Linked DNA regions of Homo sapiens: region 1 is linked to region 2. Evidence: promoter capture Hi-C in human tissues and cell types (Jung and others, 2019). All regions are on one chromosome and are shown on one strand. The core of a region is centred on a gene start or on the middle of the fragment in contact, and the rest is flanking DNA. Distances in the headings are between cores, read along the strand shown. Region 1 overlaps LINC00539 (long intergenic non-protein coding RNA 539). Region 2 holds the start of XPO4 (exportin 4).

Evidence for each region. Contacts are between HindIII fragments. The study calls those that stand out against the background at their distance.
Region 1: a fragment that was not itself captured here is called in contact with the fragment with the promoter of XPO4 in region 2 in 1 of the 25 tissues and cell types used here (aorta).

What each region holds. Positions count from the first base shown.
Region 1 is chr13:21,304,013-21,308,347 of GRCh38, reverse strand. The region is part of intron 2 of LINC00539 (long intergenic non-protein coding RNA 539); the gene reads left to right. It also overlaps the pseudogene MIPEPP3. Among named protein-coding and RNA genes, the nearest start is that of LINC00539, 39 kb to the left of the region's middle. The HindIII fragment of the contact is 3,239 bases long and covers 189-3,427 here.
Region 2 is chr13:20,901,382-20,905,540 of GRCh38, reverse strand. XPO4 (exportin 4) reads left to right here and starts at 2,795. Exons shown (of 23, transcript NM_022459.5): 1 at 2,795-2,871. The coding sequence starts at 2,803. RefSeq lists a silencer at 2,393-2,772 and an enhancer at 2,983-3,032. The HindIII fragment of the contact is 40,685 bases long and covers 1-4,159 here.

The DNA of each region.
Region 1 (4,335 bases), core at 559-3,058, 400 kb before region 2:
TCGGAAATTCCACCGAGAGCCCCAACCCAATTTAGCTGGGAAGCTTTACTCTTATTAAAAGGTACATACACGAAACAATATTAGCAGTTAGACTGTATCTTTCACGTCTTATCCTTCTTTATCATTCCCGTGTCTCCCTTGCTGTATTGCGTGCACAAGTTCACACGTTTGAGGAACGAAACTTCAAACATAGTCTGTACCAAGAGGCTTTACTCTTTTCTTTTTCCTCTCTACCCCTTTCCCCTAGAGCTTGGTCAAGATGTCCTAATGGTCTAAAATGTCAAAAGAAAACTAGATGAGGAAAAAGTAATAGAAAATAACTCTATTATAAGCTTCCTTATAGTTCAGATTCATCTCTTTCTTGTAAGAACCACCCACCAGTTCCTACTCAGAGACTCAAGGATACTCCTGTTCCTCAGTTGGTTCAAGATAAAAACACTGAAGATTTACATCAATCGAAGGGTTTCTGTTACCATTCACATGGGCCTTCCCGAATGCTAGTGAAACGTAGATAGTCATTACCCATCAAAAAACACTCACCAAGAAGGGCCAGACTCCCACACATGGATCCCAGAAGTCAGGGAGAGAGTGAGTGTGGAGGCCTACCTCCTCCCAACCTGCTCACCCACGGAGCCACTCCATGGCAAAGGAACAGTAGCTCAGAGGCTGCCCGCACTGCCCCCACTGCAGAGGTTTAAGGAAATCTCCCAGTAGTATGTTTTATGTTGGAAGACCCTGAGATAAAGCCCATACTTCAGTCTGTATTTGTCCTCCCACAAAATGAAGAGTGCTTGTCCATGAGACCAGCCCACGTCTAATTCGGCAGGACACAGCATGCAGAGAGCCTCGAGCAGGCAGCCCACTGCTGACTCCTTCCCAGGGGCCTTTCCCCGAGAGGCAAAGCTTTCTCCCAGGGAGTCCCCACTTTCAGCCCTGTCAGCATGCCCAGTGTCTGCACTCTGCAGGGCCCCGTTCTGTCCCATTACGCAAGTTGGTTTTCAGCGGCTATGGGGAAAGTCACACACGATTGTGCCAAAGTGAACAAATGTTGGCGACCTGGGGAAAAGCAGCAGCTGCACATCCTGAAGCGTTGGGTCTTCCAAGGAAGCCTCGTCTAACCAGAGAAGCCATCACTCTCCTCCTCCAACAATTTCTGGCATATGAAATTGTCTTATCGTGTTACCCCCTTTTCCCTGTTGTAAATCCACGCTGGCGAGCCCAGGGCTCTCCCTAGCTCTATACACTGCCTGGCATGGTGCCATGCAGCTAAGTGTGTTGGAATACAGCGCTGTCCACCATTCAGTTATTTTAACAAGCACTATGGAGCTCTTATAAGTGGCTTAAAAACACTCACATTTACCCCAAAATCACTTTAAAATAATTCACTCCATCACAGCCTCAGCCAGAGCCTGCTCCAGCTCTCCCACAGACTTTCACAGCCTCCCTAGACTCCCCTAATTCCAACTCAACAGGGACCACAAGGACACTGTTTATAGAGCGTTTTGGCTTCTCGCCCCGTGGCCCACAGCCATTGATGCAACAGCAATTTAATCAAGCGATAATCTAGTAAGTCCAACTTGCCACTAGGACACTAAAAAGCCCTTATTTAAGGTAAGTGATAATGGTGATGACAAGAATCCTGGGTGTCTGTCATCTCAGATTATCAAGTGACACCTTTACATTGATCTCATTTAACACTCACAAGGACCCTGAGGCAGGGTTAACTTTATGACCCCATTTACAGAGAAGGAAATGACTGAGAGAACAGACAACCAGCCCTGAGGCCCAGTGCCTGCCTGCAAGGTGAGCCAATGGCCTGTCCTGAGACCTCCCTCCGGCCACCCCTGGTCACACACACCTCCCACCCTGCTGGGCGGGGGACAAGCACTATGGACAAAACTGCCTACGGCACAAGTCCATGAAACCGGATCACCCAGGACTTGGCACGGAGGTGGGGAGGGGAACAGCACATACTTCTCTACCATGGTGCCAATACTTCTACAAGCTTCTTCTGCGACTTCCCTGAATGCTGGCTCAGGGTGAGCGATTTTCACAAAATCAGCCTAATAAAGGGGAAAGACGAAACCAAAAGGGAATTTGATGGGAAGCTTTCTTCCAGGATCTGGGGGTGAAAATGAAAACTGGGTTTTAAGATGTGCCATTGGCTTGGCCTATGCATTTCCATTACTGACTTTTTCCTAAGCGAGTAAAGCAAAGCAGCTGCTTTCTGAACATTTATTTAATTCTGTTATTCCTTGAAACCAAGTTTGTTTCTTTCCAAAAAAAATAATTTTATTAACTTTGTTTCAGAAAAGTTTTTCTCCTTCAAATATAAACACCAAGCAAATTCTTCCTAACCCTTTATTAAATCAAAAGAGCAGACACTGGTTTCAAATATTCTACAACTTTCTGGCTAAAATTCTTTGCAGTATGGTTCTCACAGGTTAACCTAGCTCCAAAAAACAACTCTTAGAGGCTTGTTTTCTTTAACTGACACATAGTATAGTTTCAAAACTCATTTAACTACACTTTAGTCTTTAACTACATTCTAGTCTTTGTGCAGAAAACAAAGGCACAGTCTCTTTAGTCCTTTTAATAAAATATGAGTTCAGTCTCCATGTAATACTGTGTACAACTACTACTGCTGCTGCTACTTAAGTCATTAGAAATTAAAATGAGCAACAATTTTTTTAAAAAGATAAAATGATGTAAAACTAAATTTTCGTTTTCATGTCAATTGTAACAAAAAGCAGAGAAACTACAAAACACTACATATTTTATTTGCCAAGAAGATGTGTGACTATAACATGAAATAAAATCACCACAAGGTAAAATTTCCTGATTTTATTATCAAATAGTTTTTAATGCCAAAACATTTAAATCCATAGTTTGGTATATTTGTTGTAAGAATTGGTAACGATAAAATAACATTAGTACCAAAGTATCTGAAAAATGAGTTACATAAATTTACATTTTTTTTTTTACAAATTACTAATCTACATGTGAATTTATAATCAATATTAAAATTCAAAACACTAGCATGCACATTAACAACTGATTTCTAATAGTGATGAGGAAAACAGTTCTGTTACGTAAAAACTGTGTTGAAAACAAAGAAAACAAAATGACTATTTAGTGAAAAAGTTTATAAGACGATTGCCTTATAATAGTACCAACATTACTGGTAGGTAACATCTCAAAAATTCAAAAAGGAGAAAGGTTCTTTTTTACCCGGAGAACTACATATATAAATCACATAGTTTTTTTTTTTTTTTAAGTTTTCAAAATGAGATATTATACATAATATTAAAAATGTCAAAATAAGATAAGATACAGGGCAGAAAAGTTAAAATATTTTAGTGAAGACCACAAGCAAAAATGTAGAAAAAAATCCTAGAATACTGATTAAGATGAAGACTAAGACAACAAATACACAGTGAATTCTGGGATTTGTGACAGCCATGCCAACAGTCACCCCTCAGTATCAGTGGGCAATGGTTAGATCTTCCTACAGATACCCAAATCCACAGATGCTCAAGTCTCTGATATAAAATGGTGTAGTACTTGCATATAACTGACGCACAGCACACTCCATACATCAAATCATATAACTGACACACAGCACAACCCTTACACTGAATCATCTCTAGATTACTTGTAATACCTAATGAATGTAAATAATATGTAAATAGCTGTTACACTGTATTATTTCATGCAACAGCGACAAGGAAAAAAGTCTGTATGTGTTCAGTACCGATGCAATTTTTTTTTCCAGATATTTTTGATCCAAGGTTGGTTGACTCTACAGATGCCCGAATCTGGAGGGGTTGACTGTACTTGAATAGTGAAATTCACTGACACAGATTTTCCTTTTCTGATTTCTGTGACACAATCAGGTGAACAGGGTATGAAACCTCCTTTTGGCAGTGCGTTCCACAGCTCCCCCATCATTCAAAGACACATTTCCTATGCACATACGGGAGGCACAGAACAAAAACCCAGCACAACAGAACTACCCAGAGCCTGCAACTTCACTCCAGAGAAAAACCCTTTACAATAAGATACTTTATCAGTTTCCTTAAGAGCGGGAGGCTTGTGGTGAACATATAATCATCTGAAAGGTGTTAATGCTCAAATCAGGTGTATGGGTGGAAGGAAATTTTCCAAAAAAGGAAAAAAAATAAAGATGGGGATGAGTTATGCTGGGTGAAAGAAGTCAGTCAAAGGTATACAGGATTCCACCTATGTGACATTCTAGAAAAGGCAAAGCTATAGGGAGAGAGAACAGATTAGTGGTTGCCAGAGGTTAGTCGGGGGGGGGTGTGGCTATACAGG
Region 2 (4,159 bases), core at 1,546-4,045:
GTGATTCTCCTGCCTCAGCTTCCCGAGTAGCTGGGATTACAGGCATGTGCCACCACACCTGGCTAATTTTGTATTTTTTTTTTTTTTTTTAGTAGACATGGGGTTTCTCCATGTTGGTCAAGCTGGTCTCAAACTCCTGATCTCAGGTGATCCGCCCACCTGGGCCTCCCAAAGTGCTGGGATTACACACGTAAGCCACTGCACCTGGCCCTCTTTCTTAAAACACGTGTAGTTGCAAAGTTCTAATGTAATTGCACAAAATAAATACTTTGGAACCCAAGGCCCAATCTGAAGCATTATAAGCCTCAAACATTTACTGTCACAAACTGTTTATCTACATATTTGCACAATATCATTGATCTTTGGTAATTACTCTTTGCAGCAACTAGAATCATTTTGTAATTTTCTTGTAGATTGCTATACTTGGTCAAATATTTACTGAGTGCCTACTATATGTCAGGCCCTATGATAAACACTTAGTTACTAAAAAGGACCATTAACTGCATTTTGGCTCACTTTAAACTTCAGTAATAAAATAAAACTTACTTAGTTTCTCAAGCAATACAAACCTTGTTAATTCATTTTCTCTACTTCAAGTTGCAGAGACTTCAAGTACAAGAAACAACATATTTTCCAACGGAGCTAATAATGCAGTTCCGTGTGGCCGGGCACAGTGGCTCATGCCTGTAATCCCAGCATTTTGGGAGGCTGAGGCAGCGGATCGCCTAAGGTCAGGAGTTCAAGACCAGCCTGGCTAACATGGTGAAACCCCGTCTCTGCTAAAAATACAAAAATTAGCCAGGTGTAGTGGTGCACACCTGTAATCCCAGCTACTCTGGAGGCTGAAGCACGAGAATCGTTTGAACCCAGGAGGCAGAGGTTGCAGTGAGCTGAGATGGCACCATGGCACTCCAGCCTGGGTGACAGAGAGAGACTCCATAACACACACACACACACACACACACACACACACACACACACACACACACACAGACATTCTGTTGCAGTGACATAAAACCTCAACAGTATGGCTTTCTTATAACTAGGAATAAGAAACAGGAAGATTTCAACAAAAAATAAACTTAAAAATACTGAAACGAATTTGACTGTCTGTGTTGTTTCAGAAGGCTGAATAAGCACCAAAAAGAAGTTATAGGAATGTAGACCGTAGATGTCAGCTCAAAACGAAACAAACCCCTGATCCGAACAACCTAACAGCACTGGTTTGAATACTGAAACAGCTGTCAGGACCACTTGCGTGGAATGTCCTAGAGGCAACTGGAGCACCGGAGGGAAGGTTAATTACTTGATACTCTAATATGCCTTTCAACACGGATTCCACAAACACGACAATGCTGATTTTTGTCCTTTTTTTTTTTTTTCCTGAGACAGGATCAGCCTCTCACCCAGGCTGGAGTGCCGTGGTGTGATCTCGCCCCACTGCACTCTCGACCTCCTGGGCAATCCTTCCGCTTCAGCCTCCCGAGAAGCTCGGACCACAGGCGCAAGACACCACACCGGGCTTTTTTTTTTTTTTTTTTTGGTAGAGACAGGGTCTCACGATGTTGCCCAGGCTGGTCTCGAACTCCTGAGCTAAAATGAGGCCTGCCTTGGCCTCCCAAAGTGCTGGGATTACAGGCATGAGCCACAGCGCCTGGCCGACAAAGCTCATCTTACTGCATTTGAGAAGCCAGGTAGTCAAGGTCAGGCTTTCCTGTCCCTGCTTTCTCCCTCTCCTATGTGAGCCAGCCCTTAAAGAGTGAAAACGGCAAGAGCCAAAGACGGGTTTTCCTCCTAGGGTCTCCTAGCGACCCGCTGCCCAGATACATTTGGATGATTGTCCTGCAGAAGGCCAAAGCCCTCCATTATGAAAACGAAGCGTTCGGCCGGGGGCGGTGGCTCACGCCTGTAATCCCAGAACTTTGGGAGACCGAGGCGGGCGGATCACCTGAGGTCAGGAGTTCGAGACCAGCCTGGCCAACATGGTGAAACTTCGTCTCTACTAAAAGTACAAAAATTAGCCGGGCGTGGTGGCGGGCGCCTGTAATCCCAGATACTCAGGAGGCTGAGGCAGGGGAATCGCTTGAACCCGGGAGACGGAGGTTGCAGTGAGCCGAAATAGGGCCATTGCACTCCATCCTGGGCGATAGAGTGAGACCCTGTCTCCAAAAAAAAAAAAAAAGAAAGAAAGAAAACGAAGCGTTCTATCCTGGAATGTTCTCCCATGGCAAGAAGGAACAGAGAAGCAGGAGACAGAGATACTTTGAAAGGAGGTGCGCTCTGAGGAGGGGAAAGCGGGAAGAGCGATTCCAAGTTTAGGAAATCCTGCACGGCGCTGGAGCGTGGAAGGGCAAGGAGGAGCCAGGGGAGGCGGTGTGCAGGGCTGAGAACGGAGGGAGCGAACTGGCGTCGTGGATCTGCGGGTCCCCGGGCGGGCTGTACTAGGGTAGTGGGGAGAGGGCCGGGGGCACCGCGAGGCCGGGGCGCCGGACACCACGCATGCGCGGGGCTGGGAGCTTAGCGGGGCGCGCGGCTGCAGCAGTCTGGGCAGACCGCCTCGGCCTCGCCCGGTGCCGGCTGCGGCCGCCCCCGCCCCAGCGCGGCGGCCGGGCTCACACTAGTCCCCTCCCAGCCACCCGGAACCCGGCAGCCCGGCCAGACCCGCCGAGGCCGCGACGCCGGTGTCGACAGCGGCTGCGACGGCCCTGGGAGCGCGTGAGGCTCCGGGGTCGCGGCGGCGATTGGCCGGCCGCGGCGCCCGCTCCCAGAATGCAGCGCATGGCGCGTCATTGAAGAGAGACCATGATGGCGGCGGCGCTGGGGCCCCCAGAAGTGATCGCTCAGCTGGAGAACGCGGCTAAAGTTCTGATGGTGAGGACGCCGCGCCCCTCAGACCCCGGGATTCGCGGGCCCCCGGTCGGCCCTGCCACTCCAGGCCTTGCTGCTCGCTGGGCTGGCGACTGGCAAGGGCCTGCAGGGAGCCTGGAAGTGGAGGAGGAGGTGGCGGTGGCGTGGCGCAGGATTCTTCAGCCTACTTTCCTCCTGCCGTCGTCCCCTCCTTCCAGGAGCTGTCCCCTTCCCCTGGCTGCCCAGCACCCCAGTCGGGCGTGGGAATATAGTGGTGTAGCAAAGAGAATTTCTTCACCTTACACCCTGCCCCACAGACTGGGTCGCAGAGCAAGGCGCCGGGAAGGAGTTGGGGTTATCCCCGCAGGGCTTCGGTAGGGGAAATTTGTAGGGCTGTGTGAGCGCTCTTGGGGAGTTGGTGTCGGGAGGGATTGGATGGCACAGCCTGGGTGCTGTTAGCAACCCTTGTTTCCTGTGCATTCGCATCCTCTAGCGCTTCCCTGACATGCAGCCACCTCTGGAGTAATTGCAGCCGGCAGCACGTGGAAGGGCCGGGCCGGCTGGAGGGAGGGAGGGGAATCGTTGAGACCAAGGTCATTGGGGCAAAACTTGGTCTAGTGCTAAGCTCCTTAAAGCTCCCGCGATTTGGAGAACTGAGTCTATGCTACTCTTTGACTTCATGCTTACACTACAATAAGCAGTTTGATGAGATTGTTTACTAAGGGAATTTGAGAAGGCCGAGTCAAAGGATAAAAGTATTACATGCAAGGAGGAGAAGTAAGGATAAACTACGTTCAGTTAGTAAACAGTGTTTCTATTTGCTGGCTCAGCTTTGTTTTTGCAAATTATGACTTCGGTGTTTGTAGATGTTTTGGGAAGTTAGAGGTTCATTTGATACCTGGATTGATTCAGACTTTCTAAGAATTGGATACAGCCAGCTTTGTTACCTTTTTGGACTTTTTTCCTTTTGGTTTGGTGTTAGGGTGTTTGAGCATCACATTTGAGAATATTCGAACTAATTCTAGCGTAGTTTGTAGTTCTAATATTTTACACCAGATATTTTTGTTTCTTTAGAAATCGAGAAGTCTAATAAAAGCAGGATTTACTTGCTTCATTATGAATATTAACTTAATGTACGTTTTGTCACAAAACAGACTAGTGAAGGTTTTCACACTTTTGCAAATTAAGCAGAAGTAACTAGCTAGTATTCCCCTTAATAAAAGATTCTTAAAAATCCCTGACATAGAGCGTTTTGTAAAATTCCTGAAATTTTCCTAGGAGCTAGGGGCTCCGTTTTCATTGGATTCTGGAA